3 separate regions of the Homo sapiens genome follow, and all the other regions are linked to region 2. The links are contacts of gene promoters, found by promoter capture Hi-C in blood cells and fetal thymus (Javierre and others, 2016). All regions are on one chromosome and are shown on one strand. Each heading gives the region's core, a stretch centred on a gene start or on the middle of the fragment in contact. The rest is flanking DNA. Distances are from core to core; before and after follow the strand shown.

Region 1 (4,394 bases), core at 1,636-4,135, 110 kb before region 2:
TCAAGGAAGAACTGAAAGGTGCCCACTGAATTTGGTACTTTTGTGCCATGCTGTGTGACAAGGGCAATTTTCCATTGCATGAAAGCCGAGAAGCCAAACCTGACTGAAGAGGTAAAGGAAAATATAATAAAGTGAAGACAATGAATACAAAATATACTTTCCAGAACTGTGGCTGTGATATAGTAAACTGGATTAGATTACTAGCCAGGGCATTCAAGCAAAATAAAGATTATTTATTTTGTTCTGTTCCTAATGTTTAAAAGAAGACAGAGTTGCACATGGTTATATAATGAAAGTAAACAGTCAACAAATAAATATAAATTGAAGTTTTAGCAATAAGAAAATATTACTGATGGAAACACCATGGGGTTGGAAAGGATGCGATCCAGAGGTAAATCAGGGCCTTTCCCAAAGCCCTAAGAGCTTTCCAAGAAATTTTTATTATTATTTCCTGGCACTTCCTATTCTATCCCCTGCATTACTTGATTTACTTTCTCAATAGTGCCTGTCAACATCTGGTACGTATTAGTTGTTTTACTTATAGTCTGTCTCTCTAGAGTAAGTTATTGGCTCCATGAGGACAGAAATTTTTATCCCATACACTGCTTCATCTCCAGGATATTTCCAGGCACAAAGTAAGCATTTAAGTATTTTTGAAACAAATAAATCTGTTCATCACTCACAATGAGATTTTGTCGTTGCTCCTTTAGCTCTTAAGAGAGAAAAAGAAAACCACCTAAGAAACTCCTCCCAAATGTTGCTATATGAGAGACAGAAAAGATTCATCATTTCCTGATGAACTGTTATTGCTGTTAGGGCATTTTAAAATGCTTGTTTTTAAAGTAAATGTGTATATACCATGGGCCCATCTTACAGAACTGACTACTTTAAACAGATAACATTTTTACTCCCAACAGAACATTATCAAAAAGAGAACACAACAGTTCCTTTTGTTAAAATAAAAATAACTTCTGTACTTAAAGAACACTTAAACATGATCTTCCACTTTTGACAAAGGATGGATTAACAGGAACCAACTTAACCCTCACACCTTAAATGGTAAATAAATAAATAAAATGACAGAGCCAGGCATGCTGATAGTGTCTGTAGTCCCAGCTACTTAGGAGGCTGAAGCAGGAGGACTGTTTGAGCACGGGAGGTCGAGGGTGTACTCTTCTATAACTGCATTTGTGAATAGCCACTGCACTCTAGCCCCTGAGAAACACAGTGAGACCCCCATCTCTTAAAAAAAAGATAAAACATACGAAGCCATGGTTTCAGACACTGGACAAAAGACAGTACTGGACAGTGATCTCTGAGAAAGAGAGGACAAATGAAATGAGCCCTATATTCCTCCAGCTAACTTCCTGGAAATAATTTCCAGAGCACTAGGAGGGTCCAAATATAATCCCAGCAGACTCCTGGAGTTGAGGAGACAGAGTTGAGAATTCAGGGAGGCCAAGGCAGCTAGAATTGGCAGAGGGAGAGTATCAGAGAGGAGGGACCTTCACAGAGAAAGAACTTTAGAAAGCTGCAGAAAGTCCCTTTGAGTCTTTAGGTGAGTATTGAAACAGTTTATGTGTGTGAGGAAACTAGTCGGTATTCTGGGAAAAATAATTACCTGAAACGATCAAGTGAACGAATCCTCGATTATCACAAAGGACAAGGACTAGTTTATGTCTCCAACAACAAAAATTTTAAAAATTCTAAAATAAATGAGGCAAAACGCCTAAGAAGTGGCAAATAATTCTCCTGGTTTTGCCTAACAAAGCTTAACAGGCTTCAAAAGAAACAAACTATCTCCAAGAAACTGTGTCACAGAACAAAACTCGAGTATGTAAATGAATATAAAAATAGCTAGCACTCAACAAGGTAAACTCTACAATGTCTAGCATCCAATAAAAAATTACTAGGCACACAAAAGGCAGGAAAATACAAACCATGAGGCAAAAAATTCTACAACAGAAACAGACCCAGGACAAAAAATATAGAATTAGCAGATAAGAACATTGAAAGTTATTTTAACTATATTCCATACATTTAAGAAGGCAGAAAAAAAGAGCATGTTAAGAACAGAGATGGAAGATGATACGAAAGACCTAAATTGATCTTTTAGAGATGAAAAAAAGATATGAAAAATACACGGGATGGGATCAAGAGCAGATTAAACATTATAGAGGAAAAAATGTGTTACCTTGAAGAAAAAGGGTAAGAAAAATATCCTAAATGAAACAGAAAAAATATGGGGGAGGAAGAGAATTAAGCATCAATCAATTGTAGGAAAACTCCAAGCATCCAAATATATGTGCAAATGGAGTCCCCAAAGAAGAATGGGAGATATAAAATATATTTGAAGAAATAATGGACAAAATTTTCCCAAATTTGGTAAAAACTATCAATCTACAGACAGATTCAAGGGGTTCAATGAAACCCATGAGCAAGAAACATGAAGAAAAGTATACCAAGGCACAATATAATCAAATTGCTTAAAGCTAGTGATAAAAACTTTCAGGCAGCCGGAGAAAAACTCATGTTACATAGAGAAAAACAAAAGAATGATAGGAGACTTTTCCATCTAAAATACAAGCCAGAAGACATTAACATCTTTCAAGTACATAAAGAAAAATACCTACAACTCCATACCTAAGAAACAAGACATCTTTCAAATATGAAGCTGAAATAAAGATTTTTTTCAGCCACACAAAAACTGACATCATCAACAGCAGACATGCACTATAGGAAATAATAAAGCAAACCATTCCAGCAAAAGGAAAATTACACCAGATGAGAATCTGGATCTATACAGAAGAATAAAGGACATCAGAAACAATTAATATGGGGCCAGGCACAGTGGCTCACGCCTGTAATCTTATCACTTTGAGAGGCCGAGGCGGATGGATCACTTGAGCTCAGGAGTTCAAGATCAGCCTGGGCAATATAGTAAAACCTTGCCTCTAAAAAAAAATACAAAAATTAGCTGGGCATGGTGGCGTGCACCTGCAGTCCCAGCTACTTAAGGGGCTGAGGCAGGAAGACTGCTTGAACCTGGGAGGTCAAAGCTGCAGTGACCTGAGATGGCACCACTGCACCCCAGTCTGGAAGACAAAGCAAGACCCTGTCTCCAGAAAAAGAAAGAAAGAAAAAAAAAAGGTTAATATGGGATAAATAAAAAATTTCTTATTTTTCAAATCTTTAAGATAACTGCTTAAATAAAAATACGTACTAAGAAATAAATGGATAAATATATATTGTGGGGTTCACAACATATGTAGAAGTATAATGTATGACTATAATAGCACAAAGGCAGGAAAAGGGTAAAGTATACTGTTATAAAGCTCTTACGCTGTGTGTGAAGAGATACATATTACTTGAAGTTAGACTGTGGAAAGGTAAAAATGCATATTAATTATAAACTCTAAAGCAATCATTATTTAAAAAGAAACACACATACACCAAAGACATATAACTACTAAGCCAGTACACCACCTAAGTAATCTAAAAGAAGGCAGAAAAAGAGAATAAAGGGAACAAGGAAGAGATGGGACAACAAATGAGAAACAACAAGATAAAGAGATTTAAACACAACCATATCAGTAACTACATTAACTGCAAATGGTCTAAATAGCCCAACTAAAGGCAGAGACTGTCAAATTGGATTACAAACAACACCTAACCATGAACATAATTATACACTGCAGCTTATTCTGTCTACAATTCATAGCAAAATACCTTATTAATTATAAATCAGAGCTGTAAAAGCCACTCAGCCACTCTCATCTGGCCTCAGTTTTCTCCTTTATAAGACTGTTAAGCTAGCATAACCTTGAAGCACCTTTATAAAGGCTGTAGAATTCTATGACTATGACCAAACTGTTTCATCAGTCTCATACTTGTTAATCTTAAAGATAAACAATAAAATTGATTCTGGCCCATAAAAAGCAAAGGGCAGTGGGAAAAAACTCCTACAGCTGTGACTGTCAAACATAATTATGTTCAAGACAAGCTTGTGGCACTTACCTAAAATGCAGATACCTAGATCCCACACTCAGATACTGATTATGTTAGTCTGGAGTAAGGCTCAGGAGCATTTATTTTTAAATGAATAACCCCACTAATTTAAATGCAGACTGTTATACAACCATACTTAAGAAGCCTACTCCTAGAAGGTAACAAAATCATATTCTGCTTCAAATGTTTTGCTATCACTCTATCATGATTGATAATCACTTCCATACAAAGGGAGTGTTCCACTCTGGTACAGACACTGGTGACAAATGTTCACTTCTATTTCCCAAAAAAAAAAAAAAAAAAAAAAATTACAATCCTAGGAGTAATCTCTGAAACACACTAGAAGGTATAGCTAGAAAGATAATGGAGAAACTAAAATTGAGTAC
Region 2 (4,850 bases), core at 2,270-4,769:
CTTCAGTGAGAGCTGTCTACTTGTTCTGGAACACTTCTGAGCACTCCCATTTGAGGCGATGGAGACGATGAGGAGGCGAGCCCCCACCCTCCCCATCTCCCATCTAAGATGTCACCACACTTTCCACATGAAGACATCTGGAATTGCAAAGGAGGCTGTGCAGTTTCTATCCGCTTACCTAATAGCCCCTCCACCGAGCAGCCACCTTCCTTGGGGTTCTCAGGGACGCTCCCTTTCCCACAGACAGGCTCCTTCAGTTTCCAGCCTCCCCCCTCCAGCTATTGTCTCCTTTTTCAAGTCTGTGGGTGAATTGTGGGGTCCACTCACCTCTGTTTTTCTAAATCCCTCAAATCCCTTTCCTACCCTGGTATGTCCAGGATTCATCTCCTCAAAATTTGTTTAAAGGGCGTGGGTTACAAATAAGGTTAGGTAGCACATGCTATTTAGAAAGTTTCAGAAAGAGAAGGAAAGAAGGAAGGAAAGAAGGAAGGAAGGAGTTGTTACATAAATGAGAAATACTAAAAGGCTGTTTAACTGATATTGCAGACACTATAGTTCCATAAAAAAGATAAATTATGAAAAACAAGGTTTGTAAACATTTTTATCTTTCCTTAATTGGCCCTTGAGCAGACCAGATGACTCAGTACTGGTCTCCAGGGATCAGCCTGCACTCCAGGGCGTTGTGACACATTTATATTGCTTATCCTATTTAACATTTTGAGTCATATTATTTTCACAGAACCTTATTTACTATAAACGTCTCTATAAATCTACATAGTATACACATTTCATTTAATATCTAAGTAACATATACTATTGTACACCATCAAATATACCCAGTAACGACACCCTAGCTTGCTTAATCATTCCTCAAGTGTTAAGAGGTTTGAGTTACAATTAACGCAACAATCCTCCCTTTACCTCCATGGATGTAATTTTTTTGTTGTTGTTTCTCTAACCCATTTATTTGTTTTTTTTGTCTGCATATGTGTTTATATTCAAACAGGCAGCTTTGTTTACTTTTCGTCTTTGTATGTTATTGTTCAAAAAAGGATTTCCTGAATCAAAAAACATGATCAGTTTTATGACCATTACTGGCTTTTTCTGTTGGAGACTTTATAGCAGCAGAGAAGTTGAGGTCTGAATTAGCACAATGACCATTTACGTTACAAAATTCTTATAAGAAAAACTTGCATGTTCTATTTCTTAATTTGATAAATTGTCAGTTATGTACCATTGAATTTTTACCCCTGCTGAAGTTACACCAGAACTACATATTTGCAGAAAATTCCAGAGAAGTCAGGATGGGCCCTTAGTACAGTAATCATAGAGTGTAACAATAGAGAACATGGCACTTTTTTAAAAAGTCGAGAGCTGCCTCTGACGTGTCACTCTTAAAATATGTCTCCCAGCAGTCATCTTCCTGCCTTCCAGGGCTAGAGCTTTGTAGGTTACCTTAGGGTGATCATGGGGACCTGGTTTTCATGAGGCCATGTTTAAGCTCAGGGGTGACCTGGCTGGGAAGAGGGTATAAACCCATGAACACGAGTCAGTTGACAGACTAGGATTGCCACTTTGTAAAGAAGAGCCCAAGACCTGATCAGAATGAGACACAAATGAGGTCATTTTTAACAGAACTAGGGGAGGGGAGAAGGACAAATAGACTGGGGCGATTCTCAGGGAGGGAAGGGCTGGATACGAGACTCTTTTGGGAGAGCCTAGAAACGACGCAAGCGTCCCAGACACCCGGGCTAGTGGAGAAGAGAGCAGAATGAGAGCAGTCATGAAAAAGAGTAAGGGAACACAAGAGAAATTCGGTTTGCCTATTTCTGTCTGGGCACAGTTCTGCCCTTAGCAATCTAAGGCAACTTCACAAAGCTCCACTCACTGCACGGGATGTAGAACACAGTGGAGGCTTCCACCCTGGTTTGACTGGCTTTTGGGAATCAAGCTGGAAAGCCAAAAGGACATGTTTCACTGTGGAGGTGCCCTCAGGGCTGGCGAAGGCCTTGGGGGAGGTGTCTTTGCAACTGTGTAGGGGTGGTTTTCTGATTAGCAAATCTGAGGGCAGGGAGATATTGTGATCAGGACTGTTTGATTCTGGGGAAGCCTCTTTTTACCCTGCCCACATAGAAGACTCTGCTTTGGATACAGAGTCAAGGACGGATACTGATACAATGGACCTGTAACTTGTCCATGGCTGCCTTTTGTACAGTTTAGTCCATTTGAGTAATCTCTACAAGCCTGCACCTCGAGGGCAAACTTCCTGCTCTTCTGGGGAATTTAATTGTGAATTGTCTGTTTCGGGGCCCATTTTGACTCCTGTATTCCAGGACTTATCTCTTTGGAGGCCTTGATTTGGAATTTCCCATTGGATGGGGCTACTTGGGTACTGGGTAGCTTCAACCTGGCTTCCGTAAGAACAAAGCCAGATGATCACGGTGGGTGGTCTGCTAGGAGAATGGAAATGCCATTGATTAAAATTGGAAGGTTAAGAGAGAGGCCTGAGAGTTTGGGATAGGAGATGAAGTTTCAAAAAATCAGTTTTTAAAAAAACATTTCCCATCTGAAATGCCAGTGAATTGTTCAGATAGATTACATTGAAAAGGCTGACATTTCTGTAGCAGCAACGAATGAAGTCATCCGAGTGGATGAGGTGCTCTAGGCCATACATGGAGAAGAGAACACAGTTACCCAAGCCTCCCCGACTGTGTGCGGCCACAGACTCTGCTCATTTCCCAGTTAGGAACGATGCAGGGGTCTGCTGGGATCTCCACGTTTCTACCTGTACCTCTGAGGACTGGGTTTCTGCCCACACGAGTTGCAGGATTTGCTCTACTGAGAAAAAGACTTTTGCTCCAGAAAGCAAGTTTCCCGTTTCAGACACGGACAGCGAGTTTTGCTTCTAGAATCATTTTCAGCTGCATACAGAAAAATGAACTTGGCTGAGCTGAAGAGCCACACATATGTTAAACGGAAGCTCGGGTATTAGGAACGTCGAGAAAGGCAGGCCGAAAAGTTAGCCCCCTTCTCCTCACCCCTGTCCTCACAGCGGCCCCTTCAGTGGCCTGACTTTTTCTGCGTGGGACCCAGAATGTCGCTTGAGGATGGGACCCCCGCAGACCTCCACGCGCTGCCACGCAAACGGCCTCGGCCGAGAGCATTCGCTTTCCAGATGAGAATGGCATCTTCAGGGACCCGCTGGTAGTGGGGCCAGGTCTCCACAGGGCCGGTCCAGTCCTTCCTACCCACCCGGGCCCTGCGGCCAGGCGGGGCCGGGAGGGGCGGATGCCGGAGGGCGCTGGGGGAGGCCGACCCGCGCGGGGCTGGTCCGAGGGCGGAGGCAATCCGCCGGCGACGCCGCAGGTCCCGGGTGGCTGACGCCGTCCGGGGGCGTTCCTGGGAGCTGGGGGCCGGCGAGGCTGGACCCGACGCGCCCGGGAGGAGCCGGCCGGCGGCCACGTGACCCACCGCGGCGGGGCCGGCGGCCCAGAAATAGCAGCGGCGGCGGTTCCGCCCGCGGGCGGCGCGAGCGAGGGGCAGAGGCGAGAGACGCCGGCGGGGCGCGGGCGCGGCGGCCCCGGAGGATGCTGCTGAGCCCCGGCACTGCCTGGCTGCGAGCACATGATGGCGATACGGGAGCTCAAAGTGTGCCTTCTCGGGGTGAGTCCTGGCCGCCACCCGCCGGCGGACCCCGGCCCGCGCTCTCGCGCCCCTTCGCTCCCCTATTCCCTGCGCGCTCAGTCCCCGTGATCCCCTCGCTCTCCGCACCCCTCTCGTAGCCCCCGTCCCCCTCGTCCGCGCGCCCCCTGGTTCCCCGGGTCCCCCTGGCTCCCCTAGTCCGTGCGCCCCTCGCTCTCCGCGCCCCTCGCTCTCCGCACCCCGCCTGTTCTCCGCCTCCCCGCCGTCCGTGCGCCCCTCTGGTCCGCCCCCGCTCTCACCCTGCCGGGGTCCGGGTCCGAGCCTGCCCCGGGCTTACTCCGCTCTTTCCTCCCGGCCCGCGAGTCCCCGGATCCGCGGCGACCTCGCGGGGACCCCCAGCGGGGACGGGGCAGTGGCGGCGAGTCTGGGGCCCCGAGGGCTTTCTCCTCCGCTTTTGATAGTTTCCTTCCGGCAGAAAGTTTAAGTTGCTCAGCCAAGTCGCTGAGTGCTCTTTTGCCTCCTGGGGGCAATTGATTTACTCACGTAAAACAGAAAAATAAAACCAAAAGCGAACCCAGCCAAGGGGGTGAAAGCCGAGGGCGCGGCCGGGGTGGAAGGTGAGGCAGTGACCTGTGCGGAGCGCGCCCTGCAAACTTCCCTGCTGCGGGTGAAAGAAGCTGCCTGGGAAAGTCCTCCCCACCATCACTCCCCTAAAGTGGGGTTTTCTCCGCCCGAAGAAGCCTTAAAGCAGCCAGAAACAAAAAAGCAGTCAATCCGTGCGGCCCGGGGACTGCAGACAGGGGACCCGGCGAGGACGCAGGGAGCCGCTGGCGAACCGCCCCTGGGAATTCAGATAAACGTAGGGTCGCTTCCTTTCGGGGGCCCACTCCGCATTCCAGAATTCCTTCTTCTAAAAGAAGAGCCGGTTCTAAGGGCGTTTTCAGCAGCCATTAGCATCTGGTGTACCCGCCCGTGTCATTGGCAAAGCTGGTCTCATGAAAACCATTTCCTAAAAAAGGGCAGCGAAAGGGTCGCATTCTTGTGCGAACTGATCTGTCAAGATGGGGGTACAAGAACTGTAGAAAGAGGAAATGATTTCGGTGAGGACTGAATTGTGCCAGCGTCTCTAGGCTTCCTCTAGGCTCTTGTGGAACCTCCGGCAGGCTCCCATCATCGGCTCCCATCACCGGCCTCTTCCAAAACCATCC
Region 3 (4,336 bases), core at 203-2,702, 120 kb after region 2:
GATATTATACCATAGTTTTTCAAGATGTGACCATTTAGGGAAACTGGGCGAAGTGTATGAGAAATCGCTTGGTACTGTTTCTTACAACTGCATGTAAACGAATCTACGGTTATCTCAGTAAAAAATCTGATTAACAAAAAGTTGATTTAGATAAAAATAATAAATATTGGAACAGTCAGGTGAGGGTATGTGTGATACATATGCATTATATATATTATATACACATGGCAAAAATTACAAAGGGGGATGTATTTGACAAAAATTTTGTAAACACACTGGGCCAAATGATTAAATTAACCATCTCCAGCACACCTAAGGTACAAAAGATAAACAGGGTAACTGTATTAAAAATTCCCATTTAGGAAAGAGGGAAGGGGAAGACTGCTGCCTGGGTCTCTGCCCAGAATGTCTGTCTCCTGTGAGACAGGAATAGTCGGTAAGTGATAGGGCCTGGGAACCTAGTGGGCACCGGCTTGTTGACACGTTTCTATGGTGGGGGAATCGGTTCTTGGTCAGCAATCTGGCTGCTCCAGATTCTGCCTGCTGATATAACTTTTCTGGGGAGTTAGCCAAACCTCTAAACCCCAGACCTTATTCAGAGCTTGACCTTCTTTTACTCTAATCCCAAAGTACTTTGCTCTCCTGTAATTCCCAGAAAACTGTATTTGATTTTTAACTGAGGGTTGTAGCAGGACAGTATGTAGATATGTGTGTGTAGATATGTGTGGATGTAGATGTGTTTGTATGTGTGTGTGTATGTGTGTGTGTAGATGTATGTGTGTATGAGTGTGTGTGTAGATGTGTATGTAGATGTGTGTGTATGTGTGTGTAGATGTGTATGTGTGTGTAGATGTATGTGTGTATAAATGTGTGTGTAGATGTGTGTATAGGTGTGTGTGTGTAGATGTGTATGTGTGTGTGTAGATGTATGTGTATATGAGTGTGTGTAGATGTGTGTGTATGAGTGTGTGTGTAGATGTGTGTGTGTAGGTGTGTGTGTGTTGGTGGAACTGATCTCATCCAACACACTTTGGTTGTGTAAGCTTGTCAATTCTTGGAAGGAGCTCTGCCTGGCCTATTTTGAGAATTTGCTGGATGGAAATGGAATTCGCCCTCCAACCTTGGCTCAGCCCACTTAAGGCATTTGAGTGCAGAAGTACTTGGCAGAGATGCCTGTTCAGTGTGTTTCATCTTCTTGCATGTTCCAGAAGATGGTATAAAGGTCCGCCCCACTCCCAGAGTGGAAGGCATTCAGAGGCATCCGGTCAGGTACACTCAGGATTTTTAGCTTGGATTTTTTTCTAGGTTCCTGATCTTGGTGAGAGATTTTCCTATCTTGAACAACCCTAAACAAAATCTCCCCTGCTCAAATTATTGTGAAACTGAAGTAATGTATGGTCCCTCTGAATTTGAGGCATGAAAGCAAAGTGGAATGTGAGAAGACTGTCCTGGACTTGCACAGAGTAGGTGCTCAGGGGTGTAACCCCCCGTCCTTCCTGCCGCTCTTCTCCCTCCCCATGAATGTTCTGGTCACAGCTCCCAGGGGTGGAGAGTGTGCAGTTCCTGGTGGGGCAGGCCATTCTGTTCTCTCCACCATCTGCTGATGCTGGAGTTAGGCTTGCACAGTTGGGGACATTTAAGGGATTGTCAGAGTTGCAAGAAAATAAGAACCTCAAATGGATTGAATCCACAGGATCTGGGGTACCAGCTGACTTGCCTGGTCAAGATGGCAGGAGAACCTAGTCTGTGTGCGAGCTGGGGCTGGCAGCAAGTTTCTGAACAAGTAGCACATGGCATGGGGCTAATTCAAGGTCTGTGCTATTCTAGGACAGCAGATTGGCCTAGGGTCTAAATAGAAAAGAAAGCTTTGTCTCAGAAAGTCTGGAGAGCCCTACAGGACGCTGCATGTCCTTTTCCTGGGTCTGGTGGGAAAAACAGGGCAGTTGAGTCTTGCAAAGAAAAAAAGAGAAATAGGTTGTAACCTTGCCTCAGTGGTTTTAAAAGTTTCATGAATTCAAGAAACCATAGTGCACTTGTTAAAAATTCCAGTTCTAGGAACCAGGTCCAGAGATTTTGATTCAATAGGAAGAGGCAGGCAAGGGTATGTGCATTTTAAAAAGTGATCCTTTTACAAGTGGTCCAAGGGTCATTCTCGGAAAAGCATTGCTTTCGTCAGTAGGAGTTTATGGTAGAGAAGAATGAGGAAGTCCCAGAATCTATCCTGGCATCTGTACAGGTCTCTAACTGCAGGCTGCACTGTCTGGGCTTCTCTCTTGCCCTTCAGGCTTCCTGGAGAATGAAAACAATGACTCATCATCTTTCAGGATTCAAAAGTGTCACCCATTATCCTAAGCAAATTAATCCAGGAACAGAAAATCAAATACTGCATGTTCTTACTTATAAGGGGAAGTAAGCATTGGGCACTCACGGACATAAAGATGGAAACAGACACTGGGAGCTTCAGAGGCAGGAAGGAGTGGGGGACAGTTGCAAAACTTCCTCTTGTGCTCAGTACGTGGGTGACAGAATCAATTGTACCCCAAACCTCAGTGTCACCCCGCATACCCATGTAACAAACCTGCACACGTACCCCTCTGAATCTAAAATAAAAGTTGAAATTATTGGCTGGTCAGGGTGGCTCACACCTGTAATCCCAACATGTTGGGAGGCTGAGGTGGGCAGCTTACCTGAGGTTGGGAGTTCAAGACCAGCCTGGCCAACATGATGAAACCCCCCTCTACTAAAAATACAAAAATTAGCCAGGTGTGGTGGCACACGCCTGTAATCCCAGCTACTTGGGAGGCTGACACATGAGAATTGCTTGAACCCAGGAGGCAGAGGTTGCAGTGAGCTGAGATCGCACCACTGCATTCCAGCCTGGGTGACAGAGCGAGACATTGTCTCAAAATACAAACAAACAAACAAACAAAAAAGTTGAAATTATTTAAAAAAACACACACACAAAACACAAAAGTGACACCATTGGCCCTTCATCTTTAATCTCTTCCAAAGCATTTCCAGGGCCTCTCTGCCCCCTTTCACACCCCACATTCATAATCACCAGGAGAAGAGATGTGATTGGGTTCAAATTAATATGAGGCTACCCTATTTAGCTTGGATCTTTTTCTAGGTTCCTGATCTTGGTGAAAGATTTTCCTATTTTGAACAACCCTAAACAAATTCTTCCTCTGCTCAAATTATTGTGAAACTGAAGTAATGTATGATCCCTCTTCTGGATGGTTCGACTCCCTTATATCCAGCCTGTGCTTGGTTGCCTTTGGCTTGGGTAAGGGGTTAAGGGTACCTGGCTTTGGGACCTCTGTGAGAGGACCTGCAGGTATTTCAGGAACCATTTGCTTTAGGGCCATGTGGCCAGGATCCTCCGCGAAGGAGGGAAGGTCAGAGGAAGAAGAGCATATCCTATCCCACCCTGGCCCTTAAGCAAGAATCACTCCCTCACACTTCCTCTGACAAGCATGGGCAGCCTTGACCTATAGCTGCCATAATAAGTCATTCCTTGGGAGAAATTACTCCAACCCCATACATTCCGCATAGCAGGTTCTAGTTCTACATTTCTTCTGCTTGATCTTGTTTTCCTGATTTTGAATTCTTGGCTCTACACAAATCCCCTTTGACTCTTCCCAATTTGAAACTCTTTCAGGCTTTCCTGGTCATTTTTGGACATTGGCCTTCATTTCATGGCTTCTAATGGAACTGCTTTTCAAGCTCAGGGGTCTCCTGTTGGCATTTCCTTGAAATTCCACCTCTCACTGGTGTATTTAGGGCCACGAATGAATCAGAAGGATGAGGGAGGGATCAGGAAGTGCCGATGGGAGAAGACCCCTCAGACCTAGTTTATTTTATCTTACAAGTGGTAGCAGTGGGAAGTTACCCAACAACAGTGACGATGGGGGCTGGGTTGGGAAGTGGGAGAACTTTCTTCTCAGAGGTGGTGGGTAATGACCTTGAGATGGCTCTGCTGTCACTGGCTGCCTCTGCCTAAGATTCCTCCTACCCTCCCCATGAATACAACCCAGGAGATGCTCAGGGGCTGTTCTCATGCACTCTCGCCTCTTCTGAGGGATGGAATCATGGTCTCTTAACATCTTACGGAAGCACTCTGGTGCCTCTTACAGAAACATTGGGAGGGATGGGTGGGACTGCTGCCAGGGAGTCCAGAATTCCTTCCTGGAGTAGAGGTCATACACCAAGACAAAGGGCATCTAGTGTTAGAAGTGAAAATAGGGTAGGGTAGGAGGAAGGAAATTAGTCCTATCAGCTCTCAGTCATTTGATTAGCAAATACGTTTTGACGGTCCTTTTGTGGCAGCAAAGTG

The links. The method cuts DNA at HindIII sites, captures the fragments that hold promoters and counts their contacts. A CHiCAGO score of 5 or more calls a contact.
Region 1: a fragment that was not itself captured here is called in contact with the fragment with the promoter of RAB31 in region 2 in 1 of 17 cell types (neutrophils); the score reaches 6.3 in neutrophils.
Region 3: a fragment that was not itself captured here is called in contact with the fragment with the promoter of RAB31 in region 2 in 1 of 17 cell types (monocytes); the score reaches 5.5 in monocytes.

Annotation. Positions count from the first base shown.
Region 1 is chr18:9,595,904-9,600,297 of GRCh38, forward strand. The region is part of intron 2 of PPP4R1 (protein phosphatase 4 regulatory subunit 1); the gene reads right to left. Among named protein-coding and RNA genes, the nearest start is that of PPP4R1, 16 kb to the right of the region's middle. The HindIII fragment of the contact is 2,232 bases long and covers 1,770-4,001 here.
Region 2 is chr18:9,704,782-9,709,631 of GRCh38, forward strand. It overlaps RAB31 (RAB31, member RAS oncogene family), which reads left to right and starts at 3,520. Exons shown (of 7, transcript NM_006868.4): 1 at 3,520-3,663. The coding sequence starts at 3,625. It overlaps LOC124904244 (a long non-coding RNA gene), which reads right to left and starts at 3,191. Exons shown (of 2, transcript XR_007066281.1): 1 at 1-3,191. It overlaps LOC105371981 (a long non-coding RNA gene), which reads left to right and starts at 3,891. Exons shown (of 2, transcript XR_935131.2): 1 at 3,891-4,850. RefSeq lists silencers at 3,215-3,784, 3,885-4,114. The HindIII fragment of the contact is 11,750 bases long and covers 1-4,850 here.
Region 3 is chr18:9,823,472-9,827,807 of GRCh38, forward strand. The region is part of intron 5 of RAB31 (RAB31, member RAS oncogene family); the gene reads left to right. Among named protein-coding and RNA genes, the nearest start is that of TXNDC2, 60 kb to the right of the region's middle. The HindIII fragment of the contact is 822 bases long and covers 1,042-1,863 here.